Regions from separate parts of the Homo sapiens genome. Here regions 1 and 2 are each linked to region 3. Evidence: promoter capture Hi-C in human tissues and cell types (Jung and others, 2019). All regions are on one chromosome and are shown on one strand. Each heading gives the region's core, a stretch centred on a gene start or on the middle of the fragment in contact. The rest is flanking DNA. Distances are from core to core; before and after follow the strand shown.

Region 1 (3,951 bases), core at 1,220-3,719, 460 kb after region 3:
GCCTCCTGAGTAGCTGAGATTACAGGCATGCGCCATCACGCCTGGCTAATTTTTGTATTTTTAGTAGAGACGGGGATTTCACCATGTTGGTCAGGCTGGTCTCGAACTCCTGACCTCGTGATCCCCCTGCCTTGGCCTCCCAAAGTGCTGGGATTACAGGCGTGAGCCACCGCACCCCGACCTAAAGTATATATTCTTGCAAATGGAATACACGTCATTGTGACGTGAGTTCCAGTGACTGTTAGGAGCATAAAAGTCCCTAAATACTTTCTTAGTAGGCTGTACTGATGCTGTGGGTTGCTTGAGGAAGCAATAGGGCAGTGGTGCTCTGCCTTGGCTGCACTTTCTTTTTCATTTTTTTTAGATGGAGTCTCGCTCTGTCACCCAGGTTGGAGGACACTGGTGCGATCTCTAGTCACTGCAACCTCTGCTTCTCGGGTTCAAGTGATTCTCGTGCTTCAGCCTCCTGAGTAGCTGGGATTACAGGTGCCTGCCACCACGCCTGGCTACATTTTAGTATTTTTAGTAGAGACGGGGTTTCACCATGTTGGCCAGGCTGCTCCGGAACTCATGACCTCAAGTGATTCATCCACCTTGGCCTCCCAAAGTGCTGGAATTACAGGCGTGAGCCTTGGCTGCACTTTCTAATCACCCAGAGAGAAACTGAAAGTCCCAGTGCCCAGGCCACACCCCAGGCCAGTTTCTGCAGACTCTGCTGGGGAGTTGAAGGCATGGGTATTTCAGGTGATGCCAAGGTGTGCCTGAGATTCATAACCATCAACCTCTAGGAGGTGGTCAGTGATGCGTCTACCTGGCAAGAGCCCTGACCTCAAGCACAGCCGGGCTCAAACCTCTGCCCTGCCACCTGCTGACTGGCAGTAAGTCCCTGGGCATTGGCTTCAGCTGCTCTAAGTCTCAGCTTTCTCACCTTCCAAGATCAGCTTTCTCACCTTCCAAGAGAGGAAGATTGCGTCACAGAGTCATTCTGAAACTAAATGAGAAAATGCTGTGGTCCTTGTGGGGGCTTGAGGCACGTTAGTTCCCAGCTCTTGTCAAGAAGGCTGGAGAAGGAAGAATGGAAACAGAACAAACCAGGAAGGGAGCCCCTGACAGAGCGAGGCTAAAGAGCCCTGTACATTATCCAACTAGGAAATCGAAGGAGGAAGGAGAAAGAAGACAGAAGAGTCAACAGCCTTAGTCATACTCCTATGCGATTTATGCTGAGGGACATTTTATACCCATTGCAGGCCTTATTTTGCATCTTCTACGCAAAACAAACAGCTCAGGTGCTCCTGGAAAGGATGATTGTTCTTTCTCTGAGTAACTGACAACAATCCTCGACTCTCTAATCTGTTTAGCAGCTCCCCAGGCACATTGGGCAGCACAACCTAAGGCAGCGGCTCAAATCTTAAGGAAGCCCAAAAATACCCCGTGTGCGTTGTTACTGGATGCCCCGTCCCTTACGGCTCAGGAGATGTGTTTTTGATACACCTTGCAGCGGCTTCTGAAATGTGATCCATCCACTTAACACATCCTGAGAAGCTGCACTACGGGGAAAGGGGATATTCCCAGCAGCTCTGAAAGACTCGAGACAGGCAACCCAGCAAACCCTAGTTCCTGGCAGGCCTCAGCAACGCAGACACTAGCAACTCTGTGGTTCAAAAGCAGCCTTCCGAAAGCATCATTTTCCCCAGTTTATCAGGTCCAGGGTGATGTTTCTCTTCAGAAATCCTGCAAACCTTCTGAAGCCTTACCATCAAAAGCCTCGCCAAGGAACGAAAAGAAGCTTCGGCTGCTGACACCCAGGACCAAGGAGCAGAAAACCAGGCCCGTGAGAAGCTTCATGGTGCTGAAATGAAAGGAGAAGTCAGGCAGTCGCCCACAAGACTGGCACAGCTTCCCTTGGGACTTATATTCCGACGAGAGCCTGGTTATTTCCACTGGATCTTATTAGAGTCTCAGTGGCTCATCTAGGAAACCTTGCAGCAGGACCTCACTCAGAGCCAGAAGCCCTCGGTTCTGAACCCATCAGCCCTGAAGCCTGACTGCATAAGAGGATGCCAACGTGGCACTGATGGAGGAAGGCAGGAGTTACCACCAGACTGTCACTCCCTCAAGTAGCCTATAATTCCCCATAACGCATTTACCGTGTGTTCCCTCTGCCCCGCACAGAACTCAACATGGGATAAACACAAAGCAGGATCATTATTTTTTATTCTTAAAGCCTTTAGCACCTGGTATTCCCAGGTGTTCTCCCATCCAAGTACTACCAGGCCCGACCCTGCTTACCTCTCTAGATCAGAGGAGATAAGACACCTTCAGAATGGTATGGCTGTATGCCCCAGGATAACTATTTTTTTTAAAGGAAATGATAATCTTGTTGGGAAAGAGAAAACAGAGTAAGTTTTAAAAATCACTCCTTGGTGTGCTCCTCACCTGATCTGTGCTGTAGCTGAGCTGCGGGTCCCTGCCTGCCAGGGAGCGGTGGCTGCTATTTATACTGAGCCTTCCCTGCTGGTTTCTTGGGAGCGAAGAAAAGCTGGATGTGGTCCCTGGGGAAAGTCCCTGCAGGTCATTTCCCCTACAAAACGGTCTAAGACAAGTTCCTGGATGCCAGTGGTTTCTTCATCCCGGGTCATTTATCCCAGTTGTGCAACCTGAGGGAACAAGATGTGCCTGGCAGCTGTCAGGGCAGGAGACCAGCTCTGCTCCTCAGCATTGAGGGGGCTGAGGCTGCGGAGTTGAGAGTGGGAGCCCCGTGATGGCGGCACCTGGGCTGCTGGAAGGTGTGAAGTGAGGGCAGCTTTGAAGCCAGCTCCTGACTCTACCAGTCATTTCCTCAGGATGGGCTCTGCTGGGCCACATGGCAGATGCCTCTGAAATGAAGTCCCTCTGAGTTCATATCTAAAGCTTCAAAGCTGACAGACTAGGTCCAGCACAGTGGCTCACTCCTATAATCCCAATGCTTTTGGAGGCCAAGGCAGGAGGATCACTTGGGGTCAAGAGTTTAAGATCACTCTGTGCAAAACTGTAAGATCTTGTCTCTACGAAATATAAAAATAAATGGACCGGGTGTGGTAGTGTGCACCTGCAGTCCCAGCTACTCAAGAGGCTGAAGCGGAAGGATTGTGGGAGACCCAGGAGGTCAAGGCTGCAGTGAGCTATAATCACGCCACTGCACTCCAGCCTGGTTAACAGAGCAAGACCCTGTGTCTAAAAGAAAACAAAATAAAACTAGCAGCCTACCCCTGCCATGTCTCATGTGTGCCCTGGAAGGCTCCTTCCACCCCTCAGTCTAGATATCCAGAGATTTACCTCCTCAGCACAGAAAAGCCCTGCTCAGCTGGCCTAGTCAATTAGGAAATTAGGAAGGAAGGAAGTGGTCAGTACCAGAGCCCAGCAGGGCTGAGGCCAGGACATGCAGAGAGGCTGGTGGATATAGCAGCAACTGTGGTTTCTTCTTCTCCAGTCCGTTTTCACTCTTTTATTTTTTCTTTCTTTCCTTCCTTCCTTCATTTCTTCCTTCCTCTCTCTTTCTCCTTCCTTCCTTCCTTACTCCCTCTCTGTCTTCCTCCTTCCTTCTTCTCTCTTCCTCCTTCCTTCCTCTCTCTCTTCCTTCCTTCTTTCCCTCCTTTCTTCCTCTTTCCCTCCCTCCCTTCCCTCCCTCCCTCCTTCCTTCCTTCTTTTCTTCCTCCCTTCTTCTCTTCCTCCCTTCCTTCCTCTCTCTTTCTCCTTCCTTCCTCTCTCTTTCTCCTTCCTTCCTTCCTCTCTCTTTCTTTCCTCTTTTCTTTTCTTTCTTTCAGAATGCTATGAATATAGGCCTCAGGATAACTACTTTTTAAAGGAAATGACAATCTTGTTGGGAAAGAGAAAACAGTAAGTCTTAAAAACACTCCTTGGCATACTCCTCACCTGATCCTCCTCTCCTCCCCTCCCCTCCCCTCCCCTCCC
Region 2 (4,083 bases), core at 91-2,590, 390 kb after region 3:
TTAGCTTTTCCTTCTGGACTAATTTTCTGGCCTAAAAAGAAGCATGAGGGCAGTTAGATGATGACACTCACACTGTGGGAATAACCATACAGTAAGTTACTTCTCCCAAGATGATTCAGGATTCCTTTGGGCTTTAACTGCCCTATTCCAATACTGATGCTTTTGTAGAATGCACTCTTCTTAAATGATCCCATACAACCAGAGCATGCTCATCAAACTCACTAACACTCTGCTTCCTTCTTTGGTACTCTTGTCATGCAGCACTTCTCACCCACTGCTACTACCTCCAGATATTAATGGGCTTTTGTTACCATTCAACTAGGGCAGGGCAGACCTCTTTAAAGCTTCCTGAATGTATTTTAAACAAACTGCCCCAAATCAACATTATCATTAATAAAAAATGACCTATCATGATCCAAAAGACTGCAAAATGCGGCCCATGGCATTTCTTTTTGCAAGGGAAATATGTAATTTTATATTCGAGAAATCTGGTGTCACCACTTTAATAAAGTTATCAAACTTAGCCTCATTAAAAGTGAGACAACCTGACACTATATGCTTTCTGAGGTGATGGAACAGGAAGTGAATGTCACTATGTATGTTATTACTCTTGCACAAAATGTTTAAGCTGAATATATTCAAGCCTTTAGATCTGACTTTTAGCTTATAAAAAATACAGGTATACAGGAATAAATTAAAACCTTGAGGAGACAATCAGAAATATTCAGAATGTTTGATATTTGACAAGGCTATACCCTGAAAGGGACTAAAGAAATGACAACTACAGGAACCTAGATTGGATACCGTTTTTTTTAAAATAAAAAAATAAAAAAATAAACCAAAAACCACAACTATAAACATTACTGAGACAACCAATGGAAATGTAACAATGGCTATTTTTTATTAAAATGTTTTCAGTGTGATAATGGTATTACAAGCAATAAAAGTGCACACACAAATAATAAAGCAAATATGGCAAAATAATAACTAATATCTAGGTGGGGCATATTACGTAGGTTTTCACTGTATCATTCTTTAAAATTTTCTGTAACTTTGTCAGCTATGATAAGAACTAAATCAATTTCAATTGCTTCTTTCAGATGTGGGCATTCCTTCAAATATTCAACTTGAAACTGTTCTGGTGCAAATCTAGTTTTGGGTATGCACTGCTTTCACCAATAACTGAGAAGAATTGTAGAGAAATTGGAGATGGGCATACTGTTTATTGTACACTGTGGTTATCACAATGTGCGTGTGTATTACACAAAGCTATGGGGCTAGCTTCCCATTTGAGAGAGACGCTAATACTGCTAATTTATAAGTCTATTGTTACAGAAATGTTAGTAGCTAAGGCTATTAGCTAGTAACAGAAATTTGTAGGGCATTCTCTCAGAAATATATGTCTTTTTTTGAGAAGGAGTCTCGCACCCAGACTGGAGTGCAGTGGCGCGATCTTGGCTCACTGCAAGCTCCGCCTCTTGAGTTCACGCCATTCTCCTGCCTCAGGCTCCCGAGGAGCTGGGACTACAGGCGCCCGCCACCATGCCCAGAGAATTTTTTTGTATGTTTAGTAGAGATGGGGTTTCATTGTGTTAGCCAGGATGGTCTCGATCTCCTGACCTTGTGATCCGCCCACCTCGGCCTCCCAAAGTGCTGGGATTACAGGCGTGAGCCACCGCGCCCGGCCCTTAATTTTTGTATTTTTAGTAGAAATGGGGTTCCACCATGTTGAGCAGGCTGGTCTCAAACTTCTGATCTCAGGTGATCCACTCGCCTTGGCCTCTCAAACTTCTGGGATTACAGGTGTGAGCCATTGCACCTAGCCCATGCCTGAAATTTATAAAAAGAGATTCCACCACCTACATTCACTATAAGGTTGAGTCTTCTCAACAGAAGATGGCCACATAAGCAAAGATCAGACAACTTGCCTAACTGGTACAATTTTAGTGAAGGAAAATCTGGCATCATCTATCAGCATTTTAAATGCATAAACCTGGCCAAGCATGGTGGTGCATGCCTATAACATAATCCCAGAACTTTGAGAGGATGAGGCAGGAGTGTTGCTTGAGGCCAGGAGTTTGAGACCGGCCTGGGCAACACAGCAAGACTCTGTCCCTACCAACAATAACACAAAAAAACACATCAACTATTAAACAGGAAATTCTTTGCAGAAATGTATCCTACACATACAACCTTGAAATGATATTAGTGCAAACACTGCAATAAAAAAATTCTGGAAACTTCCTAAGTGTCCAACCACAGAGGGCTGGTTAAATACATGATTGTATATTCATTTAGTGGAGTATTATGCAACTCTTAAAGTGTGTGGAGATCTATATGTCAGGTAGATTTACATATTATATGTAAACCTGTACCTGTTCTGTTATTAAGTGAAAAGGTCAGGTTATAAAACAGTATATATTCAGTGACCCCATTTTGTAATTATTTCTACATAGTTGATTTTTTGATATAAAATAAAGATTTATATAATCTCTTTACAAAATTACTAGCAACTATGACATACAAATACATCAGAACTTAGTATAGCTGACTTACATTTAATATCTGCATACATATGGCTGATTGTAAATCTATCTTTGCCTTCAGGTGCCCAAGCAATTCTTTCTGCCATGAGGTACAGAGCTCCATCCTGCTTCTTTTGACGCACTTTCTTTACAATCAGCAAAACTTCTTCAGATGAGGTTGCCATGGTGGCTAGAAGGTGCTAAGAGAGAAAAAAAAGATGAAGAAAAAAACTATTCCACACATCAATTAGGGTTGAATTTGTTGACTTCTAGAGTCCCTTTCAAATATAAAATCTAAACTGTAGGAAATTAACGGGGAAGAAGAAAGTCTCTTTTCTCATTCAAAGTTGAAGATAAAGTTGCACGGCATCATTCCTCTACAATTAAATTTCATTTTGCTCATACCACAGGTGTAAATTTATACAATACTTATATGCTAATGAGTATTATTAATTTATTTTCCTCAGTTATATTCTTATACACACACAATTTGAAAATGTGTAGTCTTTCATATAGTCTATATTTACAATTGTAAAACTGTAGAATTACAGTCATATTTATTATTTAGTTCAAATTTGTTTCAATTGAAACTAAAGTCTGCAAGATATGTGGGGACTTCCCAGAACCACTCCCAGAGCTGAAACCACACCAAAGTTTCCTGATTTCTGGTCTGTTTCTTCTGTATAAATAAAACTGAGAGAACTAAATATTTAACACTTCACATGCTAATTTCTTATCTTTTAACATTCAAATGTCTTCAACTGCTCTCCACGTCTTGGCCATGATTCATTGGTATAATGCCTAACTAGTTACCTAAGAAAGAGTCTGGTCCCTCCACCTCCATCCCCTGCCTCTGAGAATCTTAAATGCCCAACCCAAATCCTCCAGGCTTGAGTGTGGCTGTCTGGACTCAGTGAGAAAAACTGCTGACTGATGGTGCTGTCTGCCATGGGCCAGGATGGGGAAAGTTGTGGCACCAATGCCACATATATGCCATTTCTGGTGAAGTTATGACTTTAGTTTTCATCCCCAGAGGAATGGCCAAAATATAATTTAACAATTACGTTTGCCCTGGGCAAATAAGTGAAGCTTTACCGCAACATTTTTCTGAGGGTTAAAACTAATGAAAACAGGCCAAGTGATGTGGCTTACACCTGTAACCCCCCGCAATTTGGGAGGCCAAGGCAGGAGGTATCACTTGAGCCCAAGAGTTTGAGATCAGCCTTGTCAACAAAGTGAGACCCCGTCTGTACAAAAAATAGGTCTAATTACTTTGGGAGGCCAAAGGGGGAGAATTGCTTGAGCCCAGGAGTTTGAGGCGGCAGTGAGCTATAATCACCACACCGTACTCCAACCTGGGTGACTGAGTGAGACCTGTGTCTCTAAACAAATAAAATGGGAACAATGAAATACTGGATCTGCCATTAGTTCTCCAAAATAATTGAGAACTTCTATTTGAACATAATGGGAAAATAAGTATTAGGAAGGGGAGTACGGCAGGGATTAAAAACAATAGAAATCAGAAATTCTTGTAATAAAGTTACAAAAAAAAAACCCC
Region 3 (3,814 bases), core at 1,253-3,752:
CCCACACCACGCAGACCCCGGGCTCCAGTTTTTAACGATGGTTCCATCAATACCTGATCCAGAATGTTTCCGTGCTACACTTTGTGTCCTGCTGCAATGTGTTCTGTCTGTCCATCCATCTCTGCCCTCTGTACCGGACACTGTGTCTCCTCAGCCAGGAAGGGGTAATGAGCTCCAGCCCCTAAGCAACCGGACTTGCCTGCCTCGGCCTCACCCGCACTTCTCCCAAAAGGCAGATGACGGGGAGTTAGGCATGGGGAGCTCCAGAAGGTCACCAGAGAGCTTTCAGCTGAGGGAGAGTTCTCTAGGTTGGAGTGGGCATCACAGCCAGGGTGGCCTCTGGGTGTCAGATGCTCTCAGGAGGGTGCCCAGCCTGTGAGGCACTGGCAAGGTAGGGGGCAGATGGGGCATGGAGAACCCAGAGGATCTAGGCCCTGTTGGGGAGGGGAGGGGAGCTCAAGGTTTGGGTGGGGACTCAGCCCAGATCTACGTGAGACATTTTTCTGTGTCACTGTGGGAAAGCCTTCCCAGAAGTCTCACTGCGTGTTGCTCTGCGTGTGTTCCCATGTCCATGCGTGTGTTGAGAGCCCATCAGGAGGGCATGCATGACTCTTTGGCAACATGTATTATCTTGGAGCCACGTGTTTTTATTGCTGACTTTAAATATTTATCCCACGGCAGACAGAGACATTTGGTGTCTTTTTATAATTCGCTCGTGGTCATTGAATAGAGCAATAAACGGAGCATTTTGAGCAAAACTAACCTCCTGGGTCTGTGTGATTTGCCTCTCCCCTCCACTGCCTTCCTTCCTGTACTTGGGTCTTTGTGCCCCTCCCCAGCATGAGCACAGTGAGCTTGGCCCTTCTGCTCACTGGAGCCCCTTGTGGAGACTGGGAGTATGGAGCGAGTCCAAATTTGTAAAGCCAAACTGGGAACATTCTGCAGGATTCTCACACAGCCTCAGCCCTGGCCCTGACACATGCTCTGGGCCATGGGGAGCCTCAAGGACAGGTGTGGAAGGCTTCCAGGGAAGGCACAGTGGCTGGCAGGTCACCATTTCCAACAGATGTGCCAGAGAAGCCAAGGCTAGGGTAAGGAGACATTCAGGTCACACCCAGGCCCCTCCCTGTTGGCCAAACTCTTATCCCATGTTAGCTCCACAGATCCCAACAGCAGCTGCAGCCCAGTAATTTCCCTTGTAAGGCCTGGGCTCAGAGTAGCTCCTCCCAAGGGGCCCAGGGAATCTGCATGTGGGCTGAGATCCTGAGCCATCCTGGACACTCCTGCTCTATTCTTGTCCCCTGCCCCCCTGGGATGGAGCAAAAGTAGCCATGATGCCACTGCTGGCAGGTGGGGGTCACCCCAGGGCAGAAGGAGGGGTCCAGGGCAAGGGTGCTGACCAACAAGTCCTTACAAGGTGCCAGAACCTTGGGTGGGATCCAGGGTCCAGGCATGCGGGGTGTGCTACAGATGATGAGAAAACAACAGGGTGGGCTGGACACGGTGGCTCACGCCTGTAATCCCAGCACATTGGGAGGCCGAGGGGTGGCAGATCATGAGGTCAGGAGTTCGAGACCAGCCTGACCAACATGGTGAAACCCCATCTCTACTAAAAATACAAAAATTAGCCGGGCGTAGCGGTGCACGCCTGTAATCCCAGATACTCAGGAGGCTGAGGCAGGAGAATCGCTTGAACCTGGGAGGCAGAGGTTGCAGTGAGCCAAGATCGTGCCACTGCATCCAGTCTGGGTGACAGAGACTCCATCTCAAAAAAAAGAAAAGAAAAGAAAACAACAGGTGGCTGAAGCAGCCCAGATGGAAGTCCTTGAGAAGAGGTGGCCATACTCTCCAGTCACCCTCAAGCAGAGACCTCCCCACAACCCCCGGAGGATGGGCCCTCCTACTCTTCTACCCAGATTAGGGAGATTGGGCTGTTGAAGTGGGAAGAGGAAGGAGACCTAACATTTCCCTGTTCTTCCCCAGGGTGGCCTTGTAAAGATACTCAGGCTGTGTATGAACCACACATAGGAGTGCAACATGAATGGGAACCCCTGGATTTGTGTAGCAACGCAGCAGATCCCAGAGGCCCTCCCCAGTTCACCGTGTCCCAGTCCCTGGAAAATACAGACCTGTTGCTTTGCTCCCTGAGCCCTGCTGGACTATGCATGCACCTGTACCTGAGTGTGTGCCTGTGCACACACACTACCCTGAGCCCCTCAGCTCAGAGAGGTCCTACCCAGCAGCAGTGAGAGCCAAAACCTGTACCACAAGGGAACAAAAAAAGTACCCCTGGACTGCCACCCTCAGCCTCCTTCCCGCCTGGCCTTCAGTGTTTCCCCCAGCCTGGATCCAGCTTTGCTTCCCGCCTCCCTTCTCCACCGCCCTCCCCCTCCCCCCACAACCAAGCAGTGTGCCATCTAGCTGAGACAGCTGCAGAGCCTGACTAAGGAATCGCCCCCAGGGGGCCAGACATTTAAGGAACAGATGACACTGGTAGCCTCACTGTTGGGGCAAAGGAAGAAGGAGACGGGCCACCCTACAGTCCAGGCACTAGCTGAGCCTCCAAAGCCGTGGACACAGCATTCGAGTGTTGGGAGGGACTGGTCAGTGCTGAAGGTAAGGCTCCCCTCCTCCCTCAGGAAGGGGACAAAGCTGACCACCTTCTGAGCCCAGAGGGGACTATAGGGTAGAGGGCAGGAATAGGAACAGGGGAGTAGTCTCAGAACCCAAAGGTAGAAGCAGCCCAGGCAGAGATATATTAGGGGGTGGAGAGAGGGAATAGAGTTTAACCCCTAACTACCTGGGTTAAAGAAGGCTTTGGAGCCCTCTGGGACGCCACTGGACTGGAGTCAAAAGCTAGGAGTCTAGTCTGAGTGACCTTGGACAGGTCATTTCTTTCAGACATCAGTTTCCTCATATACGAAATAGGACTTTAAAAACTGCAATGCTGGGCCAGGCGCGGTGGCTCACGCCTGTAATCCTAGCACTTTGGGAGGCTGAGGTGGGCGGATCACGAGGTCAGGTATTCGAGACTAGCCTGGCCAACATAGTGAAACGCCATCTGTACTAAAAATACAAAAAATTAGCCGGGTGTGATGGCGGGTGCCTGTAGTCCCAGCTACTCGGGAGCCTGAGGCAGGAGAATTGCTTGAACCTGGGAGGCAGAGGTTGTCGTGGGCCAAGATCGTGCCACTGCACTCCAGCCTGGGCAACAGAGCAAGACTCTGTCTCAAAAAAACAAAAACAAAAAAACTGCAATGCTGGCCACATGCAGTGGCTCACACCTATAATCCCAGCACTTTGGGAGGCCAAGGCAGGCGGATCAATCGAGGCTAGGAGTTTGAGACCAGCCTGGCCAACAAGATGAAACCCTGTCTCTACTGAAAACACAAAAATTAGCTGGGCATGGTGGCACGTGCCTGTAAACCCAGCTGCTGGGGAGGCTGAGGCAGGAGAATGGCTTGAATTCGAGAGGAGGAGGTTGCAATGAGCCGAGATCACCCAAAAAAAACCGCAATGCTGGTTAAATAAAACATTGAGAAAACATGGTGCTCTGAACAGGAATGAGGAAACGCTATCATCTGGTATGGAAAAAATCTCCAAGACACATTAAATGAAAAAAGAAAGGGTCAGAATAGTGTGTATAATGGGCTACCTTATGTGCTTTTTTAATTAAAAAAAAAAAAGGAAGATGATAAGAACACATGAGTTTTCCTATTTGCATGATGGAGGTCTAGAAGGAGCCTAGAGACTGGCTACCTGTTGCAATGGGGAAGGTTGTAAGATAGACGCAGGAGTGGGAGGGAGCCTGTCC

Evidence for each region. The method cuts DNA at HindIII sites, captures the fragments that hold promoters and counts their contacts. A contact is called where the count stands out against the background at its distance.
Region 1: the fragment with the promoter of SAA1 here is called in contact with the fragment with the promoter of IGSF22 in region 3 in 1 of the 25 tissues and cell types used here (mesenchymal stem cells).
Region 2: a fragment that was not itself captured here is called in contact with the fragment with the promoter of IGSF22 in region 3 in 1 of the 25 tissues and cell types used here (bladder).

What each region holds. Positions count from the first base shown.
Region 1 is chr11:18,264,782-18,268,732 of GRCh38, reverse strand. SAA1 (serum amyloid A1) reads right to left here and starts at 2,469. Exons shown (of 4, transcript NM_199161.5): 1 at 2,437-2,469; 2 at 1,755-1,849. The coding sequence starts at 1,845. It also overlaps the pseudogene RNA5SP334. The HindIII fragment of the contact is 1,672 bases long and covers 2,376-3,951 here.
Region 2 is chr11:18,331,702-18,335,784 of GRCh38, reverse strand. It overlaps GTF2H1 (general transcription factor IIH subunit 1), which reads right to left. Exons shown (of 15, transcript NM_005316.4): 2 at 2,557-2,725; 3 at 1-31. The coding sequence starts at 2,710. Among named protein-coding and RNA genes, the nearest start is that of GTF2H1, 11 kb to the right of the region's middle. The HindIII fragment of the contact is 6,284 bases long and covers 1-4,083 here.
Region 3 is chr11:18,724,876-18,728,689 of GRCh38, reverse strand. IGSF22 (immunoglobulin superfamily member 22) reads left to right here and starts at 2,502. Exons shown (of 23, transcript NM_173588.4): 1 at 2,502-2,616. All of the region lies in intron 2 of IGSF22-AS1 (IGSF22 antisense RNA 1), which reads right to left. PTPN5 (protein tyrosine phosphatase non-receptor type 5) reads left to right here. Exons shown (of 15, transcript NM_006906.2): 15 at 1-762. The HindIII fragment of the contact is 11,359 bases long and covers 1-3,814 here.